Regions from separate parts of the Homo sapiens genome. Here all the other regions are linked to region 2. Evidence: promoter capture Hi-C in human tissues and cell types (Jung and others, 2019). All regions are on one chromosome and are shown on one strand. The core of a region is centred on a gene start or on the middle of the fragment in contact, and the rest is flanking DNA. Distances in the headings are between cores, read along the strand shown.

Region 1 (4,899 bases), core at 709-3,208, 59 kb before region 2:
GTGAGCTCTCCATGCGGGAGGACTCAGAAGTGATCACTCATGAGGGACGCTCAGGAGATGATAGAGGATTAGGCTCTATATAATGATTTTAATAGTCTAAATATATACAATTTATTCATAGACTAGAAAAAAAGTGGCTTTTCTACATTTTTGAAGAATTTAGTTTTTTAATGAATTAGTCCAAAGAAAGAATGTTTCTATCTTTAGTAAAAGCTATCATTGTGGTTTCCTGCAATGTATGCAAATTAATTCTACTCATTTACTTGTTTTTCATTTTCTGGTTTTTTTCTTTTTCCTTTTTCTTTTCTTTTTTTGTTTTAGAGACAAGTGTTTCACCCTGTCACCCAGGGTGTGGGTGGAGTGTAGTGGCTTGATCATAGCTTACTGCAGCTTTAAACTCCTGGGCACAAGGAATCCTCCCACCCCAGCCTCTCAAGTAGTGGGGACTACAGGTGTGCACCACCATGGTGCCCAGCTTCTTGTTTCTGCTTTAGAAAAAAAATTATATATATCTGTGTGTGTATATATATATATATATGGTTTTTTTTTGGCTAGCTTTTCTTGGTTCTTATACTGCAATTTTAAGGTGTAGAAGCAATTGAGGTTTTTTTTCCTCCTATTAATAGATAAAAGGCAATTTTTTTTCCTAAGATTGCTATGGTCAGAATGTATCCCCCAAAATTTACGAGTTGGAGACAGTCCCCAATGCAACAGTATTGGGGGATGGGGACTTTTGGGAAGTGTTTACGTCATGAGAGTACCTCCTTCGTGAATGGATTAATGCTGCAATAAAAAGGGCTTACAGGGGTGGGTTCACTCTCCCTTGTCCTTCTACCTTCTGCCATGTAAGGACACAGTAAGAAGGCCCTGACCAGATGCCAGTGCTTTGATCTTCGATTTTCCAGCCTCCAGAACTGTGAGAAATAAATTTCTGTTCTTTACGAACTACCCAGTTTCAGGTATTCTGTTCAATAGCAGTGTAAAACAGACTAAGACAAAGTTCTAAATTGCTTTAGTCATGTCCAAAGGTATTAATATGTAATATCTTAATCATAATACATTTTTATGTTGCCTTCTGTTTACTCTAAATTATCCACATGTCCTGATTGTTAAGTTTCCACGTGATCGGGTATTACAATTATTATTATTTTTTTTTTGAGATGGAATCTTGCTCTGTCGCCCAGGTTGGAGTGTAGTGATGTAATCTTGGCTCACTGCAACCTCCGCTTCCTAGGTTCAAGTGATTCTCCTGCCTCAGCCTCCTGAGTAGCTGGGACTATAGACGCCCACCACCACACCCAGCTAATTTTTTGTATTTTTAGTGGAAACGGGGCTTCACCATGTTGGCCAGATGGTCTCGGATCTCTTGACCTCGTGATCCACCCCCCTTGGCTTCCCAAAGTGCTGGGATTACAGGTATAAGCCACCACGCCCAGCCCATTTAATGACTTTTTAAATTGAGATATTGTACTTTTCAGTTCAGACATTCCATTTTTATAGTTTTCATTTCTCTGCTGAGCATTCACCAATGTTTGCATTCTTGAAAATATAATAATGTCTCTAAAGTTCTTTCTTGCCAAATCTAACATTTGGGTTATGCTGACATCTATTTTTATTGACTAATCTTGATTTTGGGACACTTGTTTGCTTATTTAGTAATTTTTTATATTATGGTGGACATTGTGATTATTCTTTGTAGGGAGGCTAAATTACATTGTCTTCCTTTAAATGGTGTTGAGTTTTGTTCTGTCAGGTTGTAATATTATTGGGGGGATCTTTTACGTTTTGACAGGCTTGGTTTTATTCTTTGTGAGGGAGGCCTATTTTGGTTTTGAACTAAATTCTAGAGGGCTTTTCCTCCTAAGGTGTGCCCTTTTTGGATTTTCAACTAAATGCATGAAGTGTTCTCTTGCTTTGTTTGGACAGTGTTAATGAGCCTGCTTGGGCTGCCATAACAATACCATAGACTAGGTAGCTTATGCAACAGAAATTTATTTTCTCACAGTTCTGGGGCCTGCAAGTCCAAGATCAAAGTGCCAGCAGAGGTGCTGTCTGGTTAGAGCTCACCCCTTGGGTTATATACAGCCCCCTTATTGCTGTGCCCTCATATGGCTTTTCCTTGCTGTGTGTACACAAAGAGAGTGCTAGCTCTCTGGTGTATCTTCTTAAAAGGACACTAATCCTATTGGATCAGGGTCCCATCCTTTTGTCCTCATTTAACAACAATTACTTCCTTAGAGGCCTCATCTGCAAATACAGCCACACTGGGGATTACGGCTTCAACATAAGAATTTTGGGAGGAACACAAACATTCCATGCATAATAGGGAGGATGACTCCCAGTGCTGCTTGACCTTTCAGCCCCATAGCAGGTAATCTCTGCTAGACCCCATAGAGACTCATCTCAAGTGTGTTTGTGTAGCCCAGCCTTTGGCCAAGGGCCTCTGGTTAATCACTGTGCTTAGAAACCTGGTCGCCATCTCTCGCTCTTCTTGGGCTAGTCCTTCTCTACTTGGGCTAGTCCTCTTCTACTTGGGCTAGTCCTCCTTGTGCTGGATGGGAAAGTATTCCAAGGCAGAAAGCTGAGGCCATCGTGAGGCTCACTACATATTTCCCTTCCCTCAAAGATCTGGGACCTGCTCTGCCTGCTATTCATTCCCTGAAAACAGTTGCCTCATTGATTTTGGCCTGTTTTATCATTGTTTTTGGTAGGATCGCAAGTCTGGTACCAGATATTCTATCATGTTTGGAAGCAGAAGACTAGTCATGAATTTTTATTTGCAAACATAATAGGAGGAGCTTTAAAGTTTTCTTGCAGCATTCTTATTTTATGTAGTTAAGTTGTTTATTACTGATAGAGCCTATTTTATTAAAAGTTTTATGGGTAGAGCTAGATTCTTTTTAAAGCTGTACTTTGAACATAATGACTGTAAGGGGGGGAGCCTTTTTGTTCCTTGTAGGTAGATATTGATGGAATTATTCTTTATCATATTGTTAGAATCTTTCTAAGCTATTTCACATTGTATTTGAGGCTCTTTTTATACAGTAATCAAAGCCTGGTGATGAAATGTTATGACTTACACCCACCAAATGCCGGCGATTTAGCATTTAGGCCCCAGGAGGGCTCTTTTAATTTTCTACCTCTCTATGCGTTTGACACAGAATAATGTGATATAGGGCCCCAACATTGGGCAAAGTGACATGCTATAAAAGAATGGTTTCTTAATTATAATATTTAAAATTTTCCAGGGGTTTAAAATACTCCTAAGTGCATAATTTAAATGTTATTTAGCTCCCTTGAAAAACAAAGTCCTTTTTGGCAGGCCATTATGAAGTCTTCAGATTTTATATTTTTAAAAAGAGTAATTGTGAGTCTTATATTTGTAGAGACTAAACTATGCTTGATAGAGTATTCAAATCAGGAATTTCCCATTTTCTATGGAAATTAAATAAACAATAGTCTAATTAGATATTTTAAAAATTGTTGGGCGGCTTTAGAAGGCATGAGATAGGCTTCATATTTAATGTATTACATGACCAGAATTGGAAAAATATCATGAAAAGTTGAGTTCTAGCTGGACTAGGTAGGTTATTAGATGGTCTAAAATCAGATTCACGTGATTATGTGTGTGTCTTTGTACTCATACATATCCATACTCATAAAATTTGATAATTGATGATACTGGCTCCTCAAATCAGTGAAGAAAGGATAGATTCTTAAATAATAGAACTGACAAAAAATTCGTAAAAATATTTTTCTGTTCCTGCCTCACACCACGTGTGAGGTTCCAGATACACTAAATGAAGTTCTAAATACATTAAAGATTTACATGTGAAAGGGGAATAATATACAGAAAAGAATGTGGGTAGATATTTAATCTTCAGGTAATTCAAACAGTATGCTAAATGACACTATAAAAAGAAAAATGGTAGATTCTGTTATAGCAAAAACTGCATCATAAACAAACAGGAAAGATTAGCATGAAGCTGTAATATATATGATTTGCTTTTCAGACTTAGTATATAAAGTTAGTTACCTATCTAAGAAGCTTTTGAAGCATTGCCTTCCCCACTTACCCTGTCTCCTTGTTGAGACTCCCAAACGGAGAGTTACTTCTCTTCAGTAAACAAGAGGAGAACTAGAACTTCATAAGCTCACTAGTGCTGTTACGTTTTGTTGCCATGTGGTGTTGCTATTGAAGTTTGATCCTATGTAGCCCGTTGAATATTTGTATGCTCAGCAGTGAAGCTTTGGTTGGTCCAGAACTTTGCACACATCAGCCAAACTATGTCCACAGATGGGCATCAGAGTTAAAGCCCTTTTAGTTCGTGTACTCAAAAGCTCTGCTGTTGTTTCCCACCTTACACATTGTACCAGGCTAATGGGATGTGGAGGAGCAACCAACATCATTCATTCACTCATGAAACAAATATTTATGGAGCACCTACTTCGTGCCCTAAATACTGTTTATGTACTAAGAATAATAATAGTGAACAAAACAAACAAAAATTCGTGCCATGATGGTTACATTCATTCTGGGGGTGGAATGTGGTGAAAGGTTGTGGCAAAGACAGATGCTAAACAAAAAAATGCTATGAAACATCTTTAGAAAGGACTATGCACAAAATCCTGCCTTCCTAATTATTTTATATTTAGTCTATGTGAGTCACCAATATGAAAGATACCAATAAGTATAACAAAGAAGACAGATTGAGTACCTAATGGATTTAGAACCAGTTTGCTGATAACTTTTCTCTAGCTTGTTTTGGGACTTTGTGGCCACTCTGTATGTAATGGTACATTATGCAGGTACTAAAAATACTGGTATAGACGTATATTTCTGAATGTGGGCAGATGTTTATTATGAGTAGAAATGCATGTTAAGAACTGATACATTTA
Region 2 (4,673 bases), core at 372-2,871:
ACATGCTCCAGTTTTTCAGAAGCACAAGAATTATGTGGGACTGGAGTAGTCAGATAGGATTTCTGTGGAGGAAGCGTGAGCTGAGTCCCATTTAGAAGAAAGGTAGGATTCAGCCGGGTGTGTAGGTTGTTGGGAGGGCATATTCCAAGGAGGCATTCCAAAGCAGAAGAGCTCAAATGTGATTGTATTTGGAATACTTGGGTATTGATGACTAGACCTGCCTGCTTGCTGGAAGGTTTGTATAGAGAGATCAAGATGGAGAAATGAGATGGAGAGTGATCAGAAATGCAGGAGAGGCTGAGTTGTTGGACCATGGAGTTTGGACTTTATCTTAGAGAAGAGTGACTTGGGCAAGATATTTTAGGAAAATGGTTTTGCCTGTAGTGTGTAGATGGAATGAAATCTCTGCGTGTGTATGTGTGCATGTGCATACGTGCACATGCACCAGGAAGCCTGGAGGCAAGGACATTAGTTATAAGATTGTTACAGAGGTTTGGATTAAGTGAAGGGATTAGGAATGGAAAGGAAGTGTCTGGTGGATGGTAAGATATAACCAGGACCTCAATAAAGCCAAGCAATTATTAAAACAAGCATGGTAGTTGTGTCCATAAACATAAAGTCCTAGAATGCAAGCTGATTTAGCGATTTGAGATAGTAAGTATATTTTAATTTAAACGGAGTCTCTTTATTTTTGAATTTGCATATACTTTTCTTCCCTCTTCTTATTCCTCTGTCAATACCTCGCACTTATTCTTCCTTTCCGCAATCCCTCTCTTTTAATTTGATCACAAATTAATCTCTTGTATGTATTTACAGGAGGAAACCAATGGCAAACGTTGTGTATGGTTGCAAGGATGAGTTTCTCCCCCTTGAAAATATCCATTCGCATAGAAATGGGAGGCACAGTGACCAACTCTTGCTTCTTAGCAGGTCTAACATGACCTTCAAAACTCCGTAGGACATACTGGTCTTTGGCGGGGCAGCATCTCCCGTCAGACTCAGGCTGGCTGGGTTTCTCACAGCTGCCTGGATGTGTGTGACTCGCAGCTCTAAGGACAGAATTGCCAAAGCAATACAAAAACACGGACGAAAAGCAAGCCACAAAACCCCATGCCTTACACATTAGGCTGATGAGTGAAGTCGCGGAAGGTGGCTCTGCTCTTGCCCTTTTAAAATTCCAGTGCAGCAAACACACACACACACACCCGCTCGGTTCTTCCCATTCCCGCCACACTGCACCAGCTTCCGTCCCCAAGTCCTGATTCATGAACCGTGCCACCTTTGTCTCATTTTAAACTGTGCAGACTATTTTAATCTTGCCACCCCCATCCCAGATTTCCCCCTCCCTTCATCCTCTGGAAGCTCTGATGTAAAGCGCTTGCTAGGTGGGAGAGCGCTTCTCCCAATCCGCTCGGGTAGGCGAGTTTCCGAGAAGCCCCCTCCCCGGGACCCCGCCGCGAGCGCGGGGGAAGCGCCTCGGTCCCTTTAAGGTGCCGCGCTCTCCGAAGTGCGGGCAGGGAGCCTGGGCGCCGGCGCGGGTCCTGGAGCCGGGTGGGGAAGTCCTGCGCCCTCCCCCTCCGTCCGCAGCCCAGCCTCGGGGGCCAGCCCCCTCCGCCCACCGCACACGGGCTGGCCATGCGGCGGCTCTGAACGATGTCCTCCTCCTCCTACGCCAAGAACGGGACCGCGGACGGGCCGCACTCCCCCACCTCGCAGGTACCGCCCCCTCCTCCCCCTTCTCCTCTTCCTCCTCTTCCTTCCTCACACCTCCTCCGCCGCCCTAGCGCGCCCCGCCTTCGTGCCGGGCGTGCGGGGCCCCAGTCCCGGGAGTCGGCGGCCCCGCTCCCCCCACCCCTCCTCCACGTCCCTTTCTCCTCCCGCTCCTCCTCTTTCTCCTCCTTCTCTTCCTCCTCCTCCTCACCCTCCTTCGGGTCTCTGCGCTCCCGCTCCGGAGCCCGCAGCCTCCCCCAGCGGATGCCGGGGACTCGGACCCCGCACCCTGAGAGTCTTTGTTAATGGATGTGGTGGGTGCTTGCGGGCTGCTCTTCTCGAGCATCTTTTCAGCAGTCGAGGCTTGCAGTGGGTGGGTGGGGGTGGGGGCTGTATTTGGGAGTCGCGGAGGAGACTTGGGTGCGGGCTCTAGGGGACCCCAGGGAGCGGGTCCGGAGGCGGACTCCAGCCGGGGGTGGTCGCCCCGCTCTGCGCTGCGGTCCTCACCGGCTTCTCTCTGGCCCCCGTGTGTCGAGTCCAGGTGGCCCGAGGCACCACAACCCGGAGGAGCAGGTTGAAAAGATCCGATGGCAGCACCACTTCGACCAGCTTCATCCTCAGACAGGTATGAGAAGGAGGCGGGAGACCAGGATGGGGAGGAGGCCGAGCGCGCGGCGCGGGGGTCCTGGAGCCGGCCGTGGCCCACACGTGCGGGAGCTGCGGGTCAAGCCCGCGCGCGTCTCTTCCCGGCCTCGGCCGGTGCTCGGGCTCAGTCCCTCTCCCTCTAGCCTGGGCTCTTGACGTCTTCGCGTCCCGGCGTCTCCGCACCGCCCCGGGAAGTTAGTTTGTGCATGTGTGTGGACAGTTCGGTGGGGACCTGGCTTAAGTCAGGGACGTTGAATTTAAGAGCTGGAAATATGTCTGGTTGTATCTTTGGTGCGTGGAGAAATGTCTTTAATTCGTATAACTCGACCTAGAGTAACCAGACCCCTCGGGGCCGGGGACCTGGTTTGATTCGAGTTGAGATTTAGTGGTTTCTTCTGTTTTGTCCTAATTTGAATACTCTTATCTGTCTGGATCTTGGGAGAGATCGTCAAGCTCCGGTCAAAAGAAAGACACTGAGCAGAAAGTTTACTCTCACTTTAGGACCGCTTCTTGGATTCGCTTAGTTAGGGAAAGACAGCTGTATCTGGTTAAATAGGAATTAACGAAGGCCAGCACTCAGCTCCGGGTCTGGGTGCGCCTTCACTTCGTGTTTGTTTTCTTAGTGCTTGCTTTCTCCTGCGTGGTTCTAGTGCGAATTGTCTGTGCTCGGGATCTCCGGATCGCTGGTAATGCTCAATGCTTAGGTGCCTTTCACCTTGGCACAGGAAATTGGTCCTCAGTTTTCCAACTGTCCATGTGCTGTTAATGAAACCACCCCTGGCTGCTGGGTGCTAGAGAGATCATGCAATGAGTCACCTTGATCTTTCTTTGGAACAGAAATTGTCGGGGTGTGTCCTAGGTTTCGGGTGACCTAGGAAGACATTGGTCATCGCACCAAGAGGCTTTTATCCCAGGTCTTCCTGTGGGCTGCTGGAGTGACCTTGAGAAGTTCTTTTCCCTCTAGGTCACTCAGTATTGTGTAATGTGTTTTCTAACCTATGATGGCAGCTCTGGTGTTTCTTTAGTGATTATCATCAATTTAAACATATCAACGAGGAATTGATATCAAAATTGAACTCAGACCTCTCCTAAAAGGGTCTATAAAGCATATTTAGATGATATTTATTATGCAGAATTTCACTTTCTGCAGAAGCGGAAATTTTGACTACCATTTAATTCAGCGAGCACTAAGCATGTACATTATGGAAATAAATGCATTTTGGATTCCGAATTCATTCTAAAAGTGCATTCTATCCCCTTTGCAGTATTTAGATTATGTATTTGATAAGGCAAACATATTGTTTATCTTAAAAACATTTTTCTGTTATGCAACTGTTTGAGGTCTTGCTGGTGTTTATTTTGTAGGTGCCTATTTTTAGTGGTGTTTCATTGTTGCAAATTCTTGGAAATACTAATTACACAGCAGTTCTTTCCATAAGCTGTTTGACTAAAACTTTTGAGTTCATCTACATAACTGCACTAATGCTTTATTCTTCCTTCCAAGCACAAACAAAATAATATTCTAATATTCTTACTCTTTTCTCAATTTATGCCCGTAACTGATTGAGATGATGTATATATAAGTTCTTGTAAAGCGTGCTGCTATGTGCTGGCTTAAGAAATGTTAAAAGTATTGCATGCTAAATAATTTTGGGAATAATTTAAAGCAAAGTAGATTTTTTTAAATAAATATATTTCATCTATGAAATGGGAATTCATTGGTTTGATTAAATGGTCTAATTTAAATTCAGGAGTTAATTGTAATTGTATTATATACACAATCTTATTTTTCGGCACAAAAATAGTACTTAATTTTTTTCTTTTTTCAGACGGAGTCTTGCTCTGTCGCCCAGGCTGGGGTGCAGTGACGCAGTCTCTGCTTACTGCAAGCTCTGCCTCCTGGGTTCACGCCATTCTCCTGCCTCAGCCTCCCGAGTAGCTGAGACTACAGGCACCCGCCATCACGCCTGGCTAACTTTTTTGTATTTTTAGTGGAGACAGGGTTTCACCGTGTTAGCCAGGATGGTCTTTATCTCCTGACCTCGTGATCTGCCCACCTCATCCTCCCAAAGTGCTGGGATTACAGGCGTGAGCCACCATGCCCGGGCTACTTAATTTTTATGAGCACTTTACAACTCACTGAGTATACTACACATGATCTCATTCAAATGACATCATACAGACTTCTGTATTGGCTACAATAAAAATAACTGAGGGATTTACATTTCTTTGATGAGATAAGGAAAATGATTACAAATGCAGTTTAACAATAACTTTCGGATAAAATTGAAATCACCCCAATGCCAAAAAATATTTTT
Region 3 (4,376 bases), core at 1,520-4,019, 35 kb before region 2:
CTGGGAGGGAGAGGTTGCAGTGAGCCAAGATCGTGCCACTGCACTCCAGCTTGGGTGACACAGCAAGACCTCGTCTCAAAAAAAAAAAAAAAAAAAAGAAAAATGTTTATATTCTTAAATCCCAGCAAGTTCACGTCTGTGAATAAGCGCAGAGAAATTGTTGCATGGGTGTCCTCAAGTCTAGGATGATCATTACCTTATCTTTGTAATGGTGAAAGACTGGAATCAACCTAAATGTCCATCTCTACAGGAATGGATAAATATGGCCTATTCGTGTGTTGGAATTTTAATTTAAAAGGAATAAGCAAAATTTGAAAGTATTAATATATAAAATTAAAAAGGTCTGTATGGATTAGCATCTGTGTCTGTTTCTATATGGACTTGGCTATAGATACGTGTAAAAGAACAAAAAACAGACTGACAAGAAGGCTACCAACTTTATTGTGGCAGTGTGGTAAGATGGATGTGGTGCTGGGATTTGGGGTCATTACTAAAGGGCACTTGTGTTTCCTGTTTACTTTTTAATTTTTTAATTTTATTATTTTTTTTTTGAGACAGAGTCTCTATCCTCCAGGCTGGAGTGCAGTGACGTGATTTCAGCTCACTGCAACCTCTGCCTTCTTGGTTCAAGCGATTCTCCTGCGTCAGCCTCCCAAGTTGCTGGGATTACAGGCACCTGCCACCACACCCGGCTAATTTTTGTATTTTTAATAGAGACAGGGTTTTGCCATGTTGGCCAGGCTAGTCTCGAACTCCTGACCTCAGGTGATCCACTCGCCTCGGCCTCCCAAAGTGCTGGGATTACAGGCATGACCTACTGCATCCGGCCTTACTTTTTTAAAGTCCAGAATAAAAAATGATTAATTGCTAATTGGTTCTAATTTTTTTTTTTTTTTTTTTTGAGACGAGTCTTGCTGTGTCACCCAGGCTGGAGTGCAGTGGTGCCATCTTGGCTCACTGCAACCTCCTCCTCCCGGGTTTAAGCGATTCTCCTGCCTCAGCCTCCCAAGTAGCTGGGACTACAGGTGTGTGCCACCATGCCTGGCTAATTTTTGTATTTTTAATAGAGATGAGGTTTCACCATGTTGGACAGGCTGATCTCAAACTCCTGACCTCTGGTGATCTGTCCACCTTGGCCTCCCAAAGTGTTGGGATTATAGGCGTGAGCCACTGCGCCTGGCTGGTTCTAAGTTTAGATATAGGGATGTGGATATTTGTTTTACTTGTACTTTTTAATATCGTTTATTAAATTTAAGAAAAATGACTCAATTATAGCTGCTTGTAAACGGATATATTCAAAGGAGGCTAAATTTAATTTTTAATTCATCTTTGCTTATTGTATTAAAATGTGGGGAACAAATGATATTTTTTGCACTGTATTTTTAGTGATGCCAATTGGTGGAAAGGAGAAAATCACAGAGGAATAGGACTTTTCCCATCCAATTTTGTAACAACTAATTTAAACATAGAGACTGAGGCAGGTAAGTTAAATCTTAGACGACATTAGATCTATTTAAGTTTTTTTCACTTAAATTTTATGTTTCAGTTTTGGATGTAAAGTAGATTGGCATTTAACTTTTGTTTTAAATCATTTCTTTATAGGCATGACAATCTAACCTACTTTTTAACCAAATTAAGGGGTTAATTTAGCCTGTGTCAATCCCAAGAATTATTTCCTCTTATTTTACATCCTCTGAGAGTTAGCATACATAGTTAAATGTCAGGCATAAAATCATTTGTGACCATGCAGGTATTTAAATCAACCTAACTATGTAGTGTAAGAGGCAGTTCATATCTATTCTGTACAAAGAGTGTTTTGATTCATCAGTGAACCACAGAGGCAAAGCGGGAGTGGTGTGGGGAGGTTGTGGTTGGCAAGTGCCGAATATGATTACTGGGGTTAGGAGTACTCCTAAATTTTAGACCTTTCCTCACCTTGATTTGATCCTAGGGAGCTTGAAACAATAACAACAAAGTAATGTAATCAAGCCACTAAGCTTCCTGTTTCAGATCTGCTGAACTTTAGTCAGTCTGCAGCCACAGACAGTTCCATTTTAGTCACTTTAGCCATTGTCAACCATGCTGAGAAAGCATTCCATTTGTTATTCAGGTAGGGAGGTGGGGGGATCTGAGTGTAAAGGAACAGCTCGTAATAGTACTAATGATGGTAATCAGAAATAGTTACTGGTTTTTGAGCATTCATTATTTGTCAGGCATTGTGCTAAGTCATCTGTACTATTGCATTTCAATCTCACGGTTCTGTGAGATAGCTACTTTTGTTGCCCTGTCTTACAGATAAGGACACTGAGGCTGAGGGATTATGTGTCTAGTAAGTGATTGAGCCAGGATTCTAAAGTCAGTCAGTTTGACCTTAACAATGACTCACTGAGGGATATATCAGTGCTAGTCCTTGCCAGTTCAGGAGAAAGAACTTCAAATGAAAGCATTATGCATGTGTAACATCGTCTTTGTATGTGTAGAGTGATACATTCAGAAAAATGAAGTCGTGAGAGGTTGATACTCACTGATTTGAATATAGAGTACTTTGCCATTATTTATAATTTTATTCCTTTTAACTGACTCTCTAAGTAGATAGGAATATTGGAGATACCTTTAAAAAATAACTTTATAGATCATGCTCAGGGGATTCTATATAGCAGTTTCTCCTTGACATAGGCTGGAGAGTATTAAGAGGAAAAAATATTGTGGATTTTCAGTTTATCCTTGTGTTATGCTGACTTCTGTTCTTTGAAAGTTAGCCAAATATTTGAAATAAATGACTAACAGTTGGGATTTAAAATTGTTTGGCTACATAGGTTTTTATTGTAGTTTTATTTTTACCAAAATTTACTTTGTTAAAATATGGTACATTCTAGCAATACTCCAGGGAACATTTAAATAGTTTTCTGGGTTTATGTATTTGTAAGTTTTTTTTCAACCTTCTCTTCATGAAAAACTTTTGTGTTTAGTGTTGTTTTAACTATTATCGAAGTTAGCTTAAAATAAGTTTTATTTTTTGTTCATATAGGAAATAGTTTTTTTAAATAGAAGGGAAGAGTGTAGAAGGAACTCGTAGATGTAACTATGAAATTAGCTAGTTAATAATCTGCTAGATAATAGTCTGCTGTCATATATTTATTCACCCCAGTGGTAACACTCAGTTTTCAGGAAAATGCCTAAAATGTCAGCTGCTGTTTATATTGTACACTTGTTCCACTAAAATTTTAAGTTCCAAGAGGTTAGGGATTCTTGTCTGTTTTATTCACCGGTGTCTGTATAAATGCCTAGAACAATGCCTGGCACATAATGAGTACTAAATAAATGTTTGTGAAATAAATGACCAAACGTATGTAATAAACGTATGTAATATTGATTATAAAATGTGGTGAATATTTGAAGGACTTTTATTTTTTTTTCTTATGGACAATCATAGGCCACTTATAAATTAATGACTAAAATTACTGAAGTAAATGCTGAGGAACTTAAAATTACTTTGTTTCTATAGCGGCTGTGGACAAATTGAATGTAATTGATGATGATGTGGAGGAAATTAAGAAATCAGAGCCTGAGCCTGTTTATATAGATGAGGTAGGGTCCCTCTTTTGTTTAATAGTTAAACTATCAAGACATTTAAATGTACTATCTTTGAGAATGCTTGGAAAGAGTAATTTCATATTTACTGAAGTTAAAACTCTTGAGTTTTTGAAAAGTGTCCTGTTACTTTTTTAGGATAAGATGGATAGAGCCCTGCAGGTACTTCAGAGTATAGATCCAACAGATTCAAAACCAGACTCCCAAGACCTTTTGGATTTAGAAGGTACTTAGTGAATATTTTATATTATTTTAATATTATTTAATATTTTAGCTATTCATGATGTCTTCAGTTTCTTCTGCCTTGTATTTGCCTCTAGAGGTTAGAAATCTCCGGTGGGGAACAGACTAGTACAGTAAAATAGTAAAAGTATTACTTGGAAGGCATTGTCATAAACCTGCAAATCCTTTTCATAAAGCAAGTATTTGTATTTCTTTAAGCCCACTAGTAAAATTGGCTGAAGATTTTTGCAGTCCAAAAAAGGACAGAATTAAAAATAACAGTACATCAAATTGAGTCAAAATGTTTAAAATGCTTATTGCTGTTTAATGTTCTTGTATTATGAATTTAAAGGACAAAATTATACATGATAATTGTTAACTTCATAACATAGTCAATTGATGCATGTTGATGTGTCTTTTAGTCTCTAAGAAATGTGAGAACAATTAAAACGTGTTTTTTATGCTTTAAAAAAAATCTTTTGGGATAAGAATCTCTGGTAAATAATTCTTCTTAAATCTTTATATAGAAGAAACATCTGGTTATGAATATAGAATACAGCGTT

What was found. Contacts are between HindIII fragments. The study calls those that stand out against the background at their distance.
Region 1: a fragment that was not itself captured here is called in contact with the fragment with the promoter of CACNB4 in region 2 in 1 of the 25 tissues and cell types used here (lymphoblastoid cells).
Region 3: a fragment that was not itself captured here is called in contact with the fragment with the promoter of CACNB4 in region 2 in 1 of the 25 tissues and cell types used here (liver).

The regions. Positions count from the first base shown.
Region 1 is chr2:152,154,734-152,159,632 of GRCh38, reverse strand. The region is part of intron 1 of STAM2 (signal transducing adaptor molecule 2); the gene reads left to right. Among named protein-coding and RNA genes, the nearest start is that of STAM2, 19 kb to the left of the region's middle. The HindIII fragment of the contact is 5,894 bases long and covers 1-4,899 here.
Region 2 is chr2:152,095,992-152,100,664 of GRCh38, reverse strand. It overlaps CACNB4 (calcium voltage-gated channel auxiliary subunit beta 4), which reads left to right and starts at 1,621. Exons shown (of 14, transcript NM_000726.5): 1 at 1,621-1,716; 2 at 2,252-2,335. The coding sequence starts at 1,654. RefSeq lists a silencer at 1,423-1,712. The HindIII fragment of the contact is 13,270 bases long and covers 1-4,673 here.
Region 3 is chr2:152,132,614-152,136,989 of GRCh38, reverse strand. STAM2 (signal transducing adaptor molecule 2) reads left to right here. Exons shown (of 14, transcript NM_005843.6): 8 at 1,387-1,481; 9 at 3,506-3,588; 10 at 3,730-3,817. Among named protein-coding and RNA genes, the nearest start is that of CACNB4, 36 kb to the right of the region's middle. The HindIII fragment of the contact is 5,672 bases long and covers 1-4,376 here.